Linked DNA regions of Homo sapiens: region 2 is linked to region 1. Evidence: promoter capture Hi-C in human tissues and cell types (Jung and others, 2019). All regions are on one chromosome and are shown on one strand. Each heading gives the region's core, a stretch centred on a gene start or on the middle of the fragment in contact. The rest is flanking DNA. Distances are from core to core; before and after follow the strand shown. Region 1 holds the start of CHST12 (carbohydrate sulfotransferase 12). Region 2 overlaps IQCE (IQ motif containing E).

Region 1 (3,828 bases), core at 873-3,372:
CCTCTCAGGCTTAAGCGATTCTCCCACCTCAGCCTCCTGAGTGGCTGGGATTGCAGGCGCCCGCCACCAAGCCTGGCTAATTTTTGTATTTTTATTTTTAGTAGAGACAGGTTTCACCACGTTGGCCAGGCTGGTCTTGAACTCCTGACCTCAAGTGATCCACCCACTTCGGCCTCCCACAGTGCTGGGATTACAGGTGTGAGCCACTGCACACGGCTGATAGTGAGAAATTTCTAAGCTGAGACAGGCATCACAGGGTGACATTGCCAGAGGCTGTCACCTTATTTACATACGTGCAATTGCATATATGTATGTATACAACATAGACATATTATACATGCATAATACAGGTCTATATGTATGTGTACAATATATAAACATATATACTACATACATACACATAGGTAACATGTATGCATTACACATACGTATAAACATATTATCTACTGTGAGTGTGTATATAATATACACATATATTTTGTGGTGGTTGTTTGTTGCTTTTCCCCCCCACTAGAATACAGGAGGGCAGGGGCCTTGCCCGTCTCCCTCACTTCCACATTTCCAGGGCCCGGTGGGTTCGGAACTCCTTTGGGACTGGCTGCAGGGAGTGGAAGAGTGAAGAGATGACCTTGGTTGGAAGGCTGCCTCGGGAGTCCATCGGAGGGGGCCAACTAAAAATATCACGGATTGAAAAAGTTCTTGGGGTGGATGGTGGGGATGTGAAAGTGCTTAATGCCACTGCAGGGAGTGCTTAAAAATGGTTAAGATGGGCCGGGCGCGGCGGCTCACGCCTGTAATCCCAGCACTTTGGGAGGCCGAGGCGGGCGGATCACGAGGTCAGGAGTTCGAGACCATCCTGGCTAACACGGTGAAACCCCGTCTCTACTAAAAATACAAAAAATTAGCCGGGCGTGGTGGCGGGCGCCTGTAAGTCCCAGCTACCCGGGAGGCTGAGGCAGGAGAATGGCGTGAACCCGGGAGGCGGAGCTTGCAGTGAGCCGAGATCGGGCCACTGTATTCCAGCCTGGGCGACAGAGCGAGACTCTGTCTCAACAACAACAACAACGACAACAACAACAACAACAACAACAACAAAGGTTAAGATGGTAAATTTTATGTTCTATATATTTTACCATAATTTAAAAAAAAAATGACTGGGCCTGGCGCGGTGGCTCACGCCTGTAATCCCAGAGCTCTGGGAGGCTGAGGCAGGAGGATTGCTTGAGTCTAGGGGTTCAAGACCACCCTGGGCAACATAGTGAGACCCCCGTTTCTATTAAAAATTAAAAATTAGCCGGGTGTGGTGGCACCTGTCTGTAGTTCCATCTACTTGGGAGGCTGAGGTGGGAGGATGGCTTGAACCCAGGAGGTCGAGGCTGCAGTGAGCTGTGACTGCACCGCTGCACCCCATCCTGGACGACACGGTGAGATCCTGTCTCTAAAAAAATAAACAAACAAACACACAAAACTACATTGATGCCAAGAACAATTACTGCATGCTCACTATGCATTAGGCATCTTGCTAAGCTCTTTACCCGTGTCATCTCGTTTGTCTCACATACTCCCTGAAAGGTAGGGTCACTAACCTATTATATTTTACGGATTGGCGACAACCTCAGAGAGGTTAAGTCACTTGCCCAAGGTCACACAGCGAGTCTCAAGCCCCAGCCGGTGAGCATCACGATCCTTTGCCAATGAGCCGATGCTCGAGAAAGGGTCGGATAGACAACAGGCACTGCATAAAGGTTGGTTAACGGGATCGTGTTTGGCTGCAACGTGGAGCTCCCGGGTCGAACGGCGAGACAGCTGCGCGTCCCCGAGCCGCCGCGCGCCCGGTCCGCCGGGGCGGAGTCAACGCCGCGGATTGGCTGCTGAGAAAGGGGCGTGGCTCGTGGCGGCCGGTGGGCGGAGTCGATCTCTGGCCGTAAATACGGCGCCACATGGCACTGGCTCGCGAGGGCGGGGGCGGGCGGGCTGGCCGGGCGCAGGCGCGCTGAGGGCGGGCGCCCCTCGGCCTCCGTGGCCCCTCCGGCGGCCGCGACGTCTCGCGAGAAGACGACCGGTAGGAGGGGCTCCTGCGCCGGGGGCGGGGCCGGCGAGGGCTGCCTCTGGGGGGTCCGCTAGTCGCGGGGCGGCGGCGGCGGCTGCGGGCGCGAGGTGAGGGGCGCGAGGTGAGGGTCGCGAGGTGAGGGGCGCGGCGGGCGGCGGGCTCGGGGCGCGGTCTCCCTCTCTCTCGGCCAGTGCTGGGCTCCCAGGGCCCGGGCGGGGGTCCCGGGCCGCGCTGAGGGGCGCGGGTCGGCTCTCCTTAACCTGGCCTGGCGGGCGCGGCTTGGGCCTGGGTTCGAGTTCCCGCGCCGGCGCGCAGTGTGACCTTGGCCCTGCGCGCGCCCTCTCTGAGCCCCGCTCGTCGTCCTCGGCCAGGGGGACCCAGCCCTGGGGCCCTGATCAGCGCGTTCTGCGGCTCCTCGGGGTCTGGACGAGAAATCTGTGGTTCTGATTCAGCGACAGCAGAGGCTGCAGCGGCCCCGCCGGCCCCCAGGAGTCCCCCTGCCCGGCATCAGCCTCTGCCGCCCGGCAGGGGTAGGACCAATTCCCGGGCTTGGAGTTCCAGGATCCCCAGCTCCCGAGGGCCCCCGTGTGCCTGCTGTCACCTGAACGGGGCTCCCCGGCCCCGCCGACCGCAGCCCTGGAGCCTGCAGACGCCAGCAGCACCGGCAGGTCGCTCAGGGTATCCCTTAAATGACCTCTCACTCCAGAAGCCGCAGCCCTGCCCCTCTGGGAGAGGAAACCGTGCATTTAGTCCGGGAACAGTGGGACTTAGACCTCCTCTGCGGGCTCCCGGCCACCGAGACACCGCCGGCAAAGCCTTGGCTCGGGCAGAGGCTCCGTCTGGCAGGCAGCACAACAAGCCATAGTGTTTCCAGCATTATTAAATTATTTAGTTCATAAGCGGGGCTGTGGGGACTCGGAAGCCCCGGGGTGAATAGGAATGTGAGTTGCAGGCGCGGTGCTGGACGCAGTACATCTTCCAGGACACCAGGCCCTACGGTGCTGTTCCCGGCTGTGGGTGGTTGGGGACAGCTCAGCGGGTCCCCCACTTACCCCCACGCGGGGACCCGGGTTAGCCCCTCACCGTGAGCATCTGGTGTTGGGAGTCAGGGCTGGTGTCTGAGTGAGGATGGAGAGAAAACAGGGGTAATGAGGAGATTGCTACACGAAGGTGCAACGCTTGAGATCTGAAAGAGCACCTGCCTGGAATGGCATAGATGTTTGATTTCCCTGCAAAGGAGTTTATGGGACTTTGGGCTGACGCTTTGGGGCCAGCAGTAACTGTCTGCTGTCACTCAGCTGACTCCAGCTTTATTATCAAACCTCCAATCGAGTGCAAGATGCTAAGCTGGGGTAGATGCCGGTAATAGCGTGGGCCTTGCCCTGGGAGCTCACGGCCAGCCTGGCTACAACTGTGTGGAGTTGAGACTGTGGTGCAGGCGTTAACAGAATGTGGCGACATTTTCCGACATTTTCCACAGTGGAGAGGACCTATGAATTGGGGCGTTTGGAGGCAAAGGGCATGCAGAGATGTGGAAGTGAAAGTGATGTTTGGGGGAGATGGTGGGTCGCCGTGTTCTTGATGAAGTGGGGTTTGAGGATTGGGTTGGAAGCTAAGACTGGAAGGCCGGGCGAGGTGGCTCGTGACTGTAATCCCAGCACTTTGGGAGGCAGAGGCGGGCGGATCACCTGAGGTCAGGAGTCCGAGACCAGCCTGGCCAACATGGTGAAACCCCATCTCTACTAAAAATACAAAATTTAGCTGGGCGTGGTGGTGCA
Region 2 (3,828 bases), core at 873-3,372, 210 kb after region 1:
AGCTTCAGGTCCTAGGAGCCAGTCCACCTCGAAAGCCCTGAGAAAGTGAGACACCTGCACATTCGCTGGGGGAGACCCTCCGTTCTCTTGTGGCAGCTGCTCCCACTTGTTAAACCAAGCTGTTTCTGCGGGACGTGCTCACTCTTGGGAACCAGTGGCCTAGAGCTTTGGGTTACAGGCATGGAGAGGGCTTTCCTGCCTCAGGCTTGGAGGCCAATGTTCCATACATAAACCGCCATGTCCTCTGGTGCAGCTGGGCTGCTCTTTTAAAAGCCAGCATCCATCTTGAAGCTCGCTGGGTAAATGGCAATGCATTCTCAAGCCAGTGTCTTCAGCTGATGCCCAGTGTCCAGTGCTGGTCACCAGTCCCCTTTGCTGGGTACAGCCTGCCTGGCTGTTCTGTGGTCCTGGAACGCTGCAGTGTGGTTTTGTTCCATGGAGACAGTACCAAGCGGAGAGGCCTCCTTGCCCACGGCCCCAGGGCCTGGGGGCCAGGGGTTCTGGCCCTGCGGGGACTTAGGCAGGAGGGGAAGAGAAGCCCATGGAGCCATGGGAGGGGTGAGCTGTGGGCGGGGCCTAGTCATGGGAGGGGTGAGCTGTGGGCGGGGCGAGCTGTGGGTGGGGCCTAGCCATGGGAGAGGTGAGCTGTGAATGGGGCTAGCTATGGGTGGGGTGAGCTGTGGACAGGGCCTAGCCATGGGAAAGGTGAGCTGTGGGCGGGGCCTAGTCACGGGAGAGGTGAGCTGTGGGCGGGGCCTAGTCATGGGAGGGGTGAGCTGTGGATGGGGCCTAGCCATGGGAGGGGTGAGCTGTGAGTGGGGCTGAGCCATGGGAGCAGCAAGCTGGTGGAGTGGGCTGGGCGGAGCTGTGGGGGCTGCTGGCAGGGCCTAGGAAAGTAGACAACTCCCGGGGGAGACGAAGTAGAGAGTGAGTCCCCAAGAAAGGGACTCCTGCCCCAGCGTCAAGTGCCAAAGCAGGCCCCATCTACCACTTCAGGGTCGACGTTGGTGGCAGGTGTTGTTCACGGTGTACTGATTGTCACTGCAACACCTCCACATCACCTTGAACTTCAAGAACAGCAGCAAAGCTGTATCTGCTATCAGAGGCTGTTAGGTAGTCCAGCTTTAAAATAACACACTCTTTCTCTATCCCATGCCCTTTAAACAAGCAGCCACAGGAGATGTCAGTCTCCAGGGCCTGGCCCCACTGTGTTGACAGCAGTCACGTCTGTTGAGCTGACACTGCTGAGGCTGAAGCTGGCCCCGTGCAGGTGGCTGGTGAGCCACAGGTGCAGTACCCGGAGGTGTGCTCTCCCCTAGAGGCCTGTCCCCAACTCCTCCCCTAGAGGCCTATTCCCGCTGCTCACAGACCTCAGCAGAGGCACCAGCTGGAGGGCTCCAGGGACATCCTTGGAGATACAGGAGGCTTTCCTGGCACAGGGCACAGCTCTTAGGAGGCCTTTGTAGGACGCTGTCTCCCCAGCGTGTCCTGCTCATCCAGGATGGGGAGAAAGAGGAGGAGGCCCCAGGCTCAGAAGCCAGGGACAGACTGCCGACGATTACCAAACTGAATCCAGGCAGTGCCATGACCCTGGGTGTCCCTTGGTTCACATCACCCACCAGACAGCTGCGGAGAGAGTGCAGGGAGGGGCTGGGACCAAACAGGCCAGAAACCAGCAGAAAAGAGGCAGAAGTGAGGTGGGTGTGCCTGGGGCACGAAGCCAGCGCCGGGGGGATTTCAGTGGAGCCTTACAGCCAGGCTCCGTGCGGACTGTGATGCCAGAGAGGCGTGCAGCCTCTGGGCAAGTCGGGAGAGGGCTTGGGTGGTCCCCACAAGGCAGAAGAGGTGGAAGGGCCAGAGAAGACCACCAAGACCACCGTTCCCGCAGGCCTGGGGTGAGTGACCTGACTGAGACTAGCGGGCAGAGCCAAGCAGGGCTAAACTCCAACCCAGGGCCCGGTGTTGGACAAAGTAGCTTTTTCTTTGCTCGTTTGTCTGTGTATTAAGAAGAGACTAAAATAGCCAAACGACGCTGGTCGCATGCGCTGGCTGTGGTCTGTCTGCTGAATGTCTATTTTTGTCTCCTGACGAGACGTGAGGACCATGCCCTTGATCCCTCCGATGGACCAGAAACCCCCTTCCTTGCAAAAAAAAGGCAATTGAATTAGGAAAAGATAGCCCAACCTAGCTCAGATCCACCAAGATAAGCACAGCAAAGCTTGGCTGCATTTTTGAGGAATAAAAACCTGCAGAAAGCACCGATAACCTTCAAGATCTGAATGAGATTCTATTATAACCCGTCTAAACGATTGCAAAATTCCTCCTTTGGTTTTGGAAGCAGCGTTTGCTCTCCCGTGGCTCGGATTCTCTGAGGACCAGGGAGTTGACACACAAACCCCGCCATGGGTCCGAGCCAGCTATTTCTCAAGGCTCCCACCTCGCCAAGCTCCCAAGGGCCTGCTGGCAGTGCCTACGCTGTGCCAACTACCCTGTCTGGTACAGACCACGGCTGGGTAAGCACCCTTAAAAGCAACAGAAATGACGTCTGGAAGCTGAAATGTGAAACTGTCAAGATGGCTTAGGAGAGGAAGGAGTGGACCCGCTGGTCTTTGGCATTTTGTATTTAGAATTATTCTAACTTTATACATAATGTATAGGCCGATCTTTTGGAAGGGATAAGGTTTTCATTCTTGTGCAACTCATTATTCTCATTATTGGCCTTTTAAATAAAAAGTTGTTTTGCAGTGTGCCTTGAGTGCCCCGTGAAGACTTCTCTTTAATGACCTCCAGGTGTGTTCCTGCCCCACGCACTCGGGCTGAACAAACGATCCGCTTCAGAAACCCCGCTTCTCTGGGCTTCTGGCATTTTGCCGTGGTCGTAATGCAGGCTTGGGGTTGGAGAGCCAGCTGGAGGGACGGGTCCCGCCGCCAGCTCCCTGCCACGCATGAACTCGGATACATCTGTTGACACCCCGGTCCCCCGTCGAATATCTATTCCTTAGATATGAGGACACAAAAATGTGCGTGCGTGAGGGAGTTATTTCTCCATATTTGATTTCATTTTTGTTTCAGGAGCAGGGAAAGAATAATTTACTGAGGAATCAAACACAGATGGAAACGACCAAAAGGAGCTGATATCTGGGTTTTGTTTTCCAATATTTTGTTGCATAGAACAAGGAGCATCTGTGGCTTTGTGTGCTTGTGGCTGCCTGCCCTGGGGCCCTAAATCCTGAGTGGAGTTTGTCCGAAGCCTCCACAGTTACTGTGGTTGGCTCTGGCATTTGCCCAAGCCTATTTTCTCTCTATCGATCTTATATGTGTGTGTGTGTGTGTGTGTGTGTGTGTGTGAAAATATATGTATATTTTTAAATTGAGATAGGGTCTTGCTGTCTTGCCCTGGCCGGAGTGCAGTGGTGCAGTCATAGCTCACTGCAGCCTCAAACTCTTGGGCTTAAGCAATCCTCTTGCCTCAGCCTCCCAGATAGCTGGGACTATAGGTGTGCACCACTGTGCCCAACCACTTTTTAAAAAATTTCTGTCACGCCTGTAATCCCAGCACTTTGGGAGGCCAAGGCAGGCGGATCACGAGGTCAGGAGTTCAAGACCAGCCTGGCCAATATGGTGACACCCCATCTCTACTAAAAATACAAAAATTAGCCGGGCATGGTGGCGTGCGTCTGTAGTCCCAGCTACTCGGGAGGCTGAGGCAGAATTGCTTGAACCTGGGAGGTGGAGGTTGTAGTGAGCCGAGATGGCGCCATTACACTCCAGCCTGGGCGACAGAGCGAGACTCTGTCTCAAAAAAATAAAAATAAAAATTCTGTAGAG

Evidence for each region. Contacts are between HindIII fragments. The study calls those that stand out against the background at their distance.
Region 2: a fragment that was not itself captured here is called in contact with the fragment with the promoter of CHST12 in region 1 in 1 of the 25 tissues and cell types used here (spleen).

The regions. Positions count from the first base shown.
Region 1 is chr7:2,401,489-2,405,316 of GRCh38, forward strand. It overlaps CHST12 (carbohydrate sulfotransferase 12), which reads left to right and starts at 2,123. Exons shown (of 2, transcript NM_018641.5): 1 at 2,123-2,185. RefSeq lists an enhancer at 1,600-1,699 and silencers at 1,790-2,159, 2,250-2,419. The HindIII fragment of the contact is 33,157 bases long and covers 1-3,828 here.
Region 2 is chr7:2,611,980-2,615,807 of GRCh38, forward strand. IQCE (IQ motif containing E) reads left to right here. Exons shown (of 22, transcript NM_152558.5): 22 at 1-2,749. It overlaps LOC107986760 (a long non-coding RNA gene), which reads right to left. Exons shown (of 3, transcript XR_001745069.2): 3 at 2,604-2,997. Among named protein-coding and RNA genes, the nearest start is that of TTYH3, 18 kb to the right of the region's middle. The HindIII fragment of the contact is 7,391 bases long and covers 1-3,828 here.